2 separate regions of the Homo sapiens genome follow, and region 1 is linked to region 2. Evidence: promoter capture Hi-C in 16 types of primary human blood cells and fetal thymus (Javierre and others, 2016). All regions are on one chromosome and are shown on one strand. Each heading gives the region's core, a stretch centred on a gene start or on the middle of the fragment in contact. The rest is flanking DNA. Distances are from core to core; before and after follow the strand shown.

Region 1 (5,292 bases), core at 2,578-5,077, 81 kb before region 2:
TCAGCACCCTGTCAAAACAGACCACTGGGCTCTACCAATCAGCAGGATGTGGGTGGGGCCAGATAAGAATAAAACCAGGCTGCCCCAGCCCGCAGTGGCAACCCGCTGGGGTTCCCTTCCACATTGTGGAAGTTTTGTTCTTTCGCTCTTTGCAATAAATCTTGCTACTGCTCACGCTTTGGGTCCACACTGCTTTTATGAGCTGTAACACTCACCACGAAGGTCTGTAGCTTCACTTCTGAAGCCAGCGCGACCACGAGCCCACCGGGAGGAATGAAAAACTCCAGACGCACTGCCTTAAGAGCTGTAACACTCCCCGCAAAGGTCTGCAGCTTCACTCCTGAGCCAGCGAGACCACGAACCCACCAGAAGGAAGAAACTCCGAACACATCTGAACATCAGAAGGAACAAGCTCCAGACGCACCACCTTAAGAGCTGTAACACTCACCGCGAGGGTCCGCGGCTTCATTGTTAAAGTCAGTGAGACCAAGAACCCACCAATTCCAGACACACTAGGGCAGGAAGACGGGCTTTCAGCATGCTGGCCTACGTCTGAGGGTAAAGCTCTTGGCTTCTTTTGTTGACTCACAGGTGGGCAGTGGAGGAAGTTCCAGCCTAAAGTGGCCTGACCCCTTGGGATCACAGACCAGGGGCAGTTGAGTTTCCCTGGTGAAGCAAACCTTGAAGGTGGGGTCTAGGGGGCAAAGCAAGAGGCTGGGTGCTCTGCTGGGCCCGCTGCCATGGAGGACTGGCACAGCTGGTAGTTCACAGTGATTCTTGGGAATGGATTATTCTCCATTGTCACACTCCGTATCTGGCCCTTGCACATTATTAGGCCAAATGCCAAGCTACTGCCATTCTTAGTGACCTGCACAATCAATCTTTGTGCACAGATGCCTGTGGAGGCTAATGGGAGTGGTAGCTCAGGCCAGGTTCCAGCATCTGCTGCCTCCCCTTGACCTAAACCACTGTCCTGTCCCAGATATGCAAACCCTGTTCCCATCTACCCAAGAGGAAAACAGCTCCTCTTTCTTTTTTTTTTTTTTCTCTCTCTCTCTTCTTCCTTTCCTTTTTAGACCCAGGATAGTAGGGAGAACTCACTGCATACCCACTGTTCTCAGGGAAGCTTGCTGCATTGATTCTAAGGTGGTAGTAGTATCTTGTGCTTCTCTCACTAAAGAACAGAAAAGAAAAAAAAACACAAATTAAATCTCCAGGACATGGTTCTGGTAGAGTACCTGCTCCCCATGTACAGAGGAGAAAGACAAAGAAAAGAGCACCATTGCTCTTAAAGCATTAACCTCAAATTGGCTTTTGGCAGACTTTTTGTAGCCTGAATGTGTCCCCATTCTCAATACCATCTGTTCTCACACACCTGCAACCTTTAAATAGGCCAAACATTCCTATGACAGGTGAAAGATTACCATAAGCAACATAGCCTATGAAGGAAATGTGTTCTTTAAACTCACTGAATTCTGAAACTTACTTATAATTCATAAGGAAAACATCCAAAATGAGTGCATAATAAAAATTATAAAATATGATTGCCTTGTCTCTGTATTAAAGGGAAGATATAGAAGCTGAAAGCTGGGTCAGCCTTTCCTCTATTCCCTCAACTGAATTGCTTTTTCCTTGTGGTTTGGCCAACTTTCAGAAGACTTTTTTTTCCTTTTCCTATTTATTTATTTATTGACAGGGACTCACTCTGTGCCCAGGCTGGAGTGCAGTGGCGCGATTATAGCTCACTGCAGCCTCAAATTCCTGGGCTCAAGCAATCCTCCCACCTCAGCCTCCCAAGTAGCTGGGACCACAGATGTATGCCACCACACCTAGCTTCTATTGGTTCTTAAAGATGAGGTTTTGCTCACTGCACTCAAGGTAACATTTTAATTAGAACTGTGGTGGCAATTTAGGCTATTCATTTCCTCATAACAGAGCCATGAAACAGTATTGTTCCATTGTATTTATGAGAACATTGAGGCACAAAAATTTAGGAAAGTTTCTCCAAGGTTATTACAGATTAATTGACCTAAGATTTTAAGTCATCATGCTGCCCCATATATTTAAGCAGTTCTGCCACTGTTGACTTTCTGATAGGCTATTTTCCTTTAGTTCCTGATGCCAACTCCTTATAATTTTGAGTTATCTGATGGTAGGTTTAGAATGATAAGCATATTAACTGGAAATGTCACTATTTTTTTATAGTGGCTTAACAAAATATATAGGTAAGATGTGCCCAGAATTTTGTCTCAATTTCTATATATTGTTTCAATTATCTTATTGGCAAATCTTATTTCTAATGCTTGTTTTAAATGAGTCCTTACTAGCCTCTTGGAGAAAACATAGAAGGGGGTAATAGTTTTAAGTCACCACATAAAATCCTCTTCTCAATGTTTAACTTTTATATGAAGGGATCTTCTTTCATGCTGTATTTTCATGTATATTACTACTTGGTCTGTGTGTTCTTGAATTATTTTCCTAGTTTGTTATCTTTGTTTCCCTTAGAACCACCAAGATTCCCCTCTTTTTCTACAGGTAGCCAACTGGCTTCTCTCACTGTTTCTTTTTAATTTTATTTTCTTTAGTTCATCCTTTGGTCACAGGCAGCACTAACATCGCACATCCAGAGAGTAAATGTTTGTATTCCCTGAGTGCTTGAATGTCTCAAACATGTAGGCCAGCAATGTAGGTGGGAGCTTGTCATTCTTGGTCACAGGAGTAGGAACTTAAGTTGGCCCTCAGCGGCCCTGTGTGTGGCAGCTCTGGGCAGCACTCATATGCCCGTCTGCTTCCCTAGAAACTGGCAGCACTCTTTTCTTCCCTTTCACCAGAAGCCTCTTCATGCGGCCACTAGGATGTGCTACTTGAGGAATTCAGGGCTTCGCCTCACCTACTTGCTGTCCTTTGACCCAACTTGTGAGAGCTTGCCATCAGCTGACTTCTCTGAGACTCCATTTCATTCTTTTAAATGAAGAAGGTACTTTAAAAATTACCAAATGCCCATGTCTTTTAGACTGTGAAAGGTTTAGAATATAGCACGGAGAGTTAGGGGGAGTGAAGCCATGTGAACCACCTAGAAAGCACAGAAGCTTCGGTAAATTAAGTGCAAACTATTGAAGTGGTGGGGTGATAGAAAACCTGACATTTGGAGAAAGAGAGAAAAAAACTAACATTAGGCTTGACAAGGACCTAGAACCCATCAACTCTAGGTTTTGGTTCCCAAAAGCCTATCTCAGCACTGCTGTCTTAAAATGCCCAGTGGAAGGAAGTGGTGGAAAGAAGACTTTGCTAAAAATGTTAGTTGTGTTAGTCCATTTTGCATTGCTATAAAGGAATACCTGAGACTGGATAATTTATTAAGAAAAGAAGCTTATTGGGCTCAGAGTTCTGCAGGCTGTATAAGAAACATACAGCCAGCATTTGCTTCTGGTGACGGCCTCAGGAAGCTTATATTCATAGCAGAAGGCAAAAGGGGAGCCAGTGTATCACACGCGAGAGAGGAAAGCAAGGGAGAGTTGGGAGAGGTGCTGGGCTCTTTTAACAACCAGCTCTCACGTGAACTAATAGATCATAGATCAAGAACTCACTCGTTACTGTTGGCATGACACCAAGCCATTCATGTGGAATCTGCCCCCATGATCCAAACACCTCCCACTAGGCCCCACCTTCAGCACTGGGGATCACATTGCAACACGAGATTTGGAGGAGACAAATATCTAAACCACGTCACCAGATCTATGGACCACTGGAAATTTAGCCCTCTCTCCAATCCCCATTTTACAGATGAAGCCCAGAACAGGAACATGACTTTTCCAGTATCTATGGCCATTTAATGGCAGAACTAGGATGCAAAATCTCCCAACTTATTGCTCCATCCCTTTTTCTAATACAACACAGAAATAATGTACTAGAACTGTGCTTAAGGGGAAAAAGGTGTTCTACCAACACAATAATAAGAGCTAAAGTACTGAGCAAATGTTCAATGTCAAGGTAAAAGGAGTAGCAAGGATAGGGATATAAAAGGCCAATCACCAGGAATATTGTAGAAGTTTGACTGCATGTTCCCCACTGCCAAGTCTGAGTTTACATGCACACTCAAAAACACCAAGGCCAGGCATTTTACACAGAGAAAAGTAAAATGACCTAGATACGGGGAAAAAAATTGCCTGGCGTATGTTTATAACCCCTGCTTCCTCCTCTTTCCCTTCCAAGCTTTGGACTGGTCCTGAGGTGTAGAGTTTGATGAATTCACTATGAAGATTTAGAGGCCCAGAGCCAAAGACATCATTACAACTCCTGTGTTTCCAACACAGAGCACAAAAGTGAGGGTAAGAATGTGTGATGCAGGTGTTTTTTTGTGTTAGAAAACAAAAATAAAACAAAACAAAAACTCCAGGGAGGCACTGAAGGAAAGAACATTTTAGGTCAAAAATTAGGAAAAACTTGCTAAAACTCAGTCATTTCTCTGACGATCTAGGGAGCTTGTTTCCTTGCCACATTCAGATCTAAAATTTTTTTTTTTTCATAGCAATGCAGTAAGACAGAAACTATCTTTACTCTGCAGAACAAGTTCATGTCGATTTTTTGGATTGTCTGTCTTGCTTCTGTGCTTTAAGAAATTATCTCAGTAAATATAGCAGGCAACAGCATGACTGGCCTTTTCCCTAATTTGATTCAGGCCTCAGCATCACTGCTAGTAAGGAATAGGATCCTTTTCTTTAACCCTTCAGAAGGCACCAGGGCAAATTCCACAGTGCATTCATGAGTCAAGGGACAGTATCTCCATGTGAGAGATATCTGCCTGGCTAGAATTTCTAGATGGCTTTCCCACTATAGGAATCCAAGCAAACCATTGTCATTCTTCCCTCTCTAGCAAGAGAAAAGAGAATCTCAGCCTTTAGAGCATTCGTTCTGGCTCAAGAACATGGGTTTTCTTTCCTGGAAACAAGGACTGGCTCAGTGAGACCTCGAAAGTTGGTGCTTTGTGGTGTTGCCAAAATGCCTGTTTCTGGCAAGCAGTGGGGGTAGGTGCTGCTTGAGGGAATCTTGTTGCCCCTCCGAGTGAAACAACACATTCATTATTTAATAGTTATTCAGCATCGGAGAAATTTTAGCTCAAGAAAAGGCTGAACTTAGAAGACTTCACTAATAAGAGTATTTTAAGAATTATAAACAGAAATCAGACTACACTAAATAGTGTGTTTCTAAGCTGAGTACATGATAAATTACCTAACAGGCTGAAGAGGGAAATAAAGAACTGAGTTGTGGATTCACAGTCTTGTGAATGTGTCT
Region 2 (4,935 bases), core at 265-2,764:
CATGTTATAGTTGACCACTTGGTTGACTGTCCTCTAGGCCTCTTAATCCTTTCTTCTTTGAGGGAGTGGAAACAGAAAATCAAGGGTAGGCATTGGGGCAAAAATATCAGTCAGGTTAAATGTACAAGATACATCTACTAGACTTTTTTTTTTTTTTTTTTTTTTGAGACTGAGTCTTGGTCTGTCGCCCAGGCTGGAGTGCAGTGGCATTATCTCGGCTCAGGGTAAGCTCTGCCTCCCAGGTTCACGCCATTCTCCTGCCTCAGCCTCCCGAGTAGCCCAAGTAGCTGGGACTACAGGCGCCCGCCACCACGCCCGGCTACTTTTTTGTATTTTTAGTAGAGACGGGGTTTCACCGTGTTAGCCAGGATGATCTCGATCTCCTGACCTTGTGATCTGCCCGCCTTGGCCTCCCAAAGTGCTGGAATTACAGGCCCGAGCCACCGCGCCCAGCCACATCTACTAGACTTTTTAGTGCCAAGGAACAAGGCACTAGTGTTCAGTACTTCCTGGTGTCATTAATTAGTAGTTATCAATAAGCAGTTTGGTGTACCGATACTGCTCTGCGTCATTTAATCACTTCTCTAAATCTATAGGTTCAATTAATTTTCTTTGTATTTACTTAATCTTATTTTATTCAATAGCAAACCAGTCTCTTTGCCTGCTACAGAGCCATCGATGTTTTCTTTGGTTCTTGGAAGAACTGTACTTCGACCTTATATAATCCTCAGAAAGGCAAGATCTGGACTACGAATGAGTCACCTGCTAATTACACCAATGGCTGCTCCTGCCTTGACCAGTCACAGAGTATCACCCTATCTCGGTATGCTGCTCTGCTTGTCGCGTAGTAGGTCTATAAATACTTGTTTTATGAATGAATGTATGAACAAAGGGAAGTTAGTCACGTGTAAGGGTGGGTAGCCTGCGATAAATAAAGTGTAGACTAGGAGGTCTCAAAATACTTTTTGAACTAAGCCCTTAATCTTCACTACTTTGGACTAGAATGGAAATGTCACCAACGCCTTCCCAATTAATTTGTCCTGGCTGTAATGACTGAAACCAGAACTTCCCTTTACACCCATGACCTCTACAGGCATCTCTTTTTCCTCTGCTCAAGAACAGTAACTGCTCACTGCTGTGTCTACCACATAGGCCCCAGAGCAAGGGGTGATAGGTAGGGCTATAGGCTCCCGACTCCCGACTCCCGGCAGTGCCTCTCTCCAACCCCCCACGAGGCTGGGACAGCTCCCTCCATCTCAGCAGTCGCTACCAAGCACCCGACCCACTCTCGCCCACCTCATCCCTCGATCCCCTTCCCTCCCTCTCACAGCATTCCGCGTAAGACTAGCCCAGCCTTCCGAGCCCCACCACCAGTTTTCCCACTTCCGCCCGGCGCGTGAGACCCTGGGCGGTGCAGGGGAGCGTTGACGACAGACGTGGGCCGTGACGTCGCCGCGCCCTGACGTCCAGCCGACTGGCGGCGCGGTCGCCCGGGAGACCGGGAAAGCCGTTTCACACCCGTCCTAGTCGAAGTCGAGGTGAGGGACGATGGCTTTCCTCAGCCTGGGATGACCCGGTCCTCCAAATGCAGTTCCGGAGTGGAGGCGTGCTCGCACCCGGGGAGAGAGCCAGAAAGCTGAGCCGCGGCGCCCCAGCGAGAGCACGAGGCCCCGGGTCTGGACTCCGCCACCACGCTCCTCTGCGGCCCCTTCCTGGTGTCTGCCAGCCCGCGGGGCCCAGGCGCGGTCCGCCTTCCTCCCAGCCCCGGGGAACGCGCGGCTCTGCTTCCTCACCCCCGCACCCTCCTCCTCCTCCTCTTCCGGCCACTGCAGGTCCAGGGGGAACGGGGTTAGAAAGGGACAGATTTGAAAGCCATTCCAGCAGTTTTGTCTGGCCTTGCGGTTGGTTTCTGTGTGGAAGAGCCTGCCGCTTCAGGAAAGTCTTAGGATGTGAACTCCCGCCTTCACCTGCCCCTGACCTGCTCGTTGTGGGTGATTCACGCCATGGGAATGGTTCTTTACGTAAGGGCTTGAAAGCTGAACGTGAGTTAATGGCCTGACGTGACACTAGTGTGAGAAACGGAATTGGAAACGAACAAGGACGTGTCTGCATTTTAAAAAATGTCTTTTCGGTGATCTTGTTAGAGAGGAGGTTCACAAACACCCACGTAGCTGCAGCCACTTATCACTGCACCTCTTGCCAAAGTGCGGTCCACATACGTGCAATGAGAAAGGATTAAAGGGACTTGTTTGATAACACACGCAAAACTATGTAAGACTAAATTTAAAAAATTACAGATTTTCCCTGTTGCCAAAAGGGAAAGACCCTTCTTTTTTCTTGAGAAACTTAGTATTTGTGAATGCTTCCTCTATTTAATATGTATGCAAATGTTTTTAAAGACCTAGGAATGCTTTTCTTGAGGACCTGGAAGCCATTTCTTTAAAATGTAAACATCAAGGAAGATAGGGCCCCAGTCTCCTTGTCACTTTGGGAGTTTAACCTAGGTGCGTTATTCCTAATTGTAAACACCTGTTTCGTTATGGAGCTGTGCATTACTTAGGAGGAAAGCCGTTAGCTAACACAGGTGGTTACCCCAATTACCAGATGAATTAAAGAGGAAATATAAAAGAATGTATAGAACACTATGTTAAGCCCTCTTACATGAGGACACGTTACCAGTTTCCTTGAGAATGTGTAATGGATTGTGTCTCCTTGGCTGTATAAAAGAGGGATTTCCTTCTCTCTTTGTAACCTCATTAGCAGATTAGCCGTGATGTGCATCAAAGTCTAGTTGAATGCCTAATAAAATTGTTGTCTTTCTGCATTGTGGAGCATTTTCTGGGTTGGCAGGACTTTTAATTTTTAGTTTCCCCCCGATAATCAGAACCTGCCAATTCCTCCCCTTCTTATGCTAAGGCCATAAAGTTGGAATAGATTCACAGACAATGAAGGCACTACACAAAAACTGTTCTACTGGTGCTTTGTTTATACTGTCATTTAGATCCGTGCTCTCAGATAACTTTATGGGTGAAATTTTAAAAGGATGTTTAGATGGTAATTTTTTGGAAAATTCTCCCAATAGAGTTGAAGTTACTATTTCATTTTACTGATGGCAAATCCACCATTAAATGACAGAAATGAGAATAATGAGCCTTCTGGGCTCTTGCCACATGATTATGACAATCTGCCAAACATCAGATTATGTTTGGGCTTATGTTGACATGGTTAATGGTACCTCCATTGCAGACCTCAGTTAACTTTACCACACATGTCATATTATGTTTTATGTGGGAAGACATAAAGCTCATTAGTTTTTGGTTTTAAACAGCAACTCACTGAAATGAGTCTTTGTGCTAACACAGGGAACAAGGAATCTTCTCTTCCACTAGTGGTTGCACCATTTACAAAGATAATGCCACTATAGGACTTTTTGACAACTACGGTTTCCCTGCTACCTTGCTGTATGGCCGGGGTTGCTCTCTCTGATAGAGTACTTTGCTTCTCCAGTCTCTTGTCAAAATCCTGCCCTGATTGAATACAAGCAACCTCAGGAAGCCTTCACTAACTCCCACCTCTCATCTGAAACATAAGATCTTTTCCTTTCTTGAACTCTTAGACTGCTCTTGTCTATGCCTTCTTCCCTGCTATGGAATTGTGCCTGTATCATCTGACTCTGCTGCCACTGCCCTCGCCCTTCTCCTGACTTCTTAGATATGTATAAACAGCCCTTACTCGTGAGGGAAGGATTTAAAAAAAAAAACAAAAAACCCAAAGTGCTCCTCCATTTATCCTCTGGTTTTATGAAAGTAGTGACTGACCTTTATATTGAATGGCTTTTATTAGAAAAAGAAAATCTGTTAAAAGTAAAATATCTGCATAAAATTATATAAATGTCCATCTTAGATAAAATTGGCACTTGGCTTCTTATTTTTTGATCACTCTTCTGTTCAGTGTTTGCATATCATATTTAATATGGTATCTCTAAATGCTCTTTTTCTGTATTTCATCATTTAATCCAGCATTCATGCCACAATTGCTTTTTTCATCTGCTAAAATACTATATTTTCATACTTTTTCTAGCAGCATTTCAGAAAAATATTTGATTTTTAAAATACACTGAAATGTGTATTTAAAATTTTAGTCATTATGTATTTGAAAAACAATTAGTAGTAAATCACAACAGAAATTATTAGACTATAAAGTTCTAACAAAAGAGAAAATATTCTTTCTAACTTAGCAGTCTCTATAGTTCTCTCCTGTTCTATTGGCCCAATAACTAACGGAGAAAACCCTAACTGTACCTTCTAACATTGAGCTGATGAAATAAGCATCTGTTGAAACAGTTATCACCATTCATCCCCAAATACTTCTAGGAGTTTATAAAGCATCTTAATTTGAATGTTCTCTACATTATTTCTGTTCTGACTGTTGCCATCAATGTTCTTAGATTTCCTTTGGCTTCAAAGCTCTCTCACCATATTTTGGGAAGTTATGGATCATCACATTCCCATGCATGCGTTGCCTGAAGAAATCCAAAAGGTATGATATATTGTGTTGCTACAGCCTAACAGTGGGAACATGTAGCAGTTACATAATTCTAAAACCTAGAGGAGTGAATTCATTAATTTTGGTCATAGGATCTGAATGAATTGGTGGAGTGGGAGAGGGAATAATTATTATCATAATGAGCAGAATTGTAGAATTCAATTCAGTATGAAGAATTTTGCTGCTATGGAAGAAGACATATATCTAATTCCAGTACAGTATTTGACCAGGTGGTTGTGGAGCCCTAGTGAAAAGCAGGCATCAGAAACGTCCATGTGTGTTTTAATGGGGCTGGATTTCTAAGCCTCTATTATGGTTTGACCAACATTAATTCTCAGTACTTACTGTGTGCCAAGCACTGTTTTAAGCCCCTTTTATGCAGATGACCCT

The links. Contacts are between HindIII fragments. The CHiCAGO score rates a contact against its expected background, and 5 or more counts as called.
Region 1: a fragment that was not itself captured here is called in contact with the fragment with the promoter of LEKR1 in region 2 in 1 of 17 cell types (non-activated CD4 T cells); the score reaches 5.2 in non-activated CD4 T cells.

The regions. Positions count from the first base shown.
Region 1 is chr3:156,741,261-156,746,552 of GRCh38, forward strand. No RefSeq gene overlaps it. Among named protein-coding and RNA genes, the nearest start is that of TIPARP-AS1, 68 kb to the left of the region's middle. The HindIII fragment of the contact is 766 bases long and covers 3,445-4,210 here.
Region 2 is chr3:156,824,839-156,829,773 of GRCh38, forward strand. LEKR1 (leucine, glutamate and lysine rich 1) reads left to right here and starts at 1,515. Exons shown (of 13, transcript NM_001004316.3): 1 at 1,515-1,538; 2 at 4,448-4,539. The coding sequence starts at 4,492. RefSeq lists an enhancer at 1,988-2,047 and a silencer at 2,362-2,656. The HindIII fragment of the contact is 11,302 bases long and covers 1-4,935 here.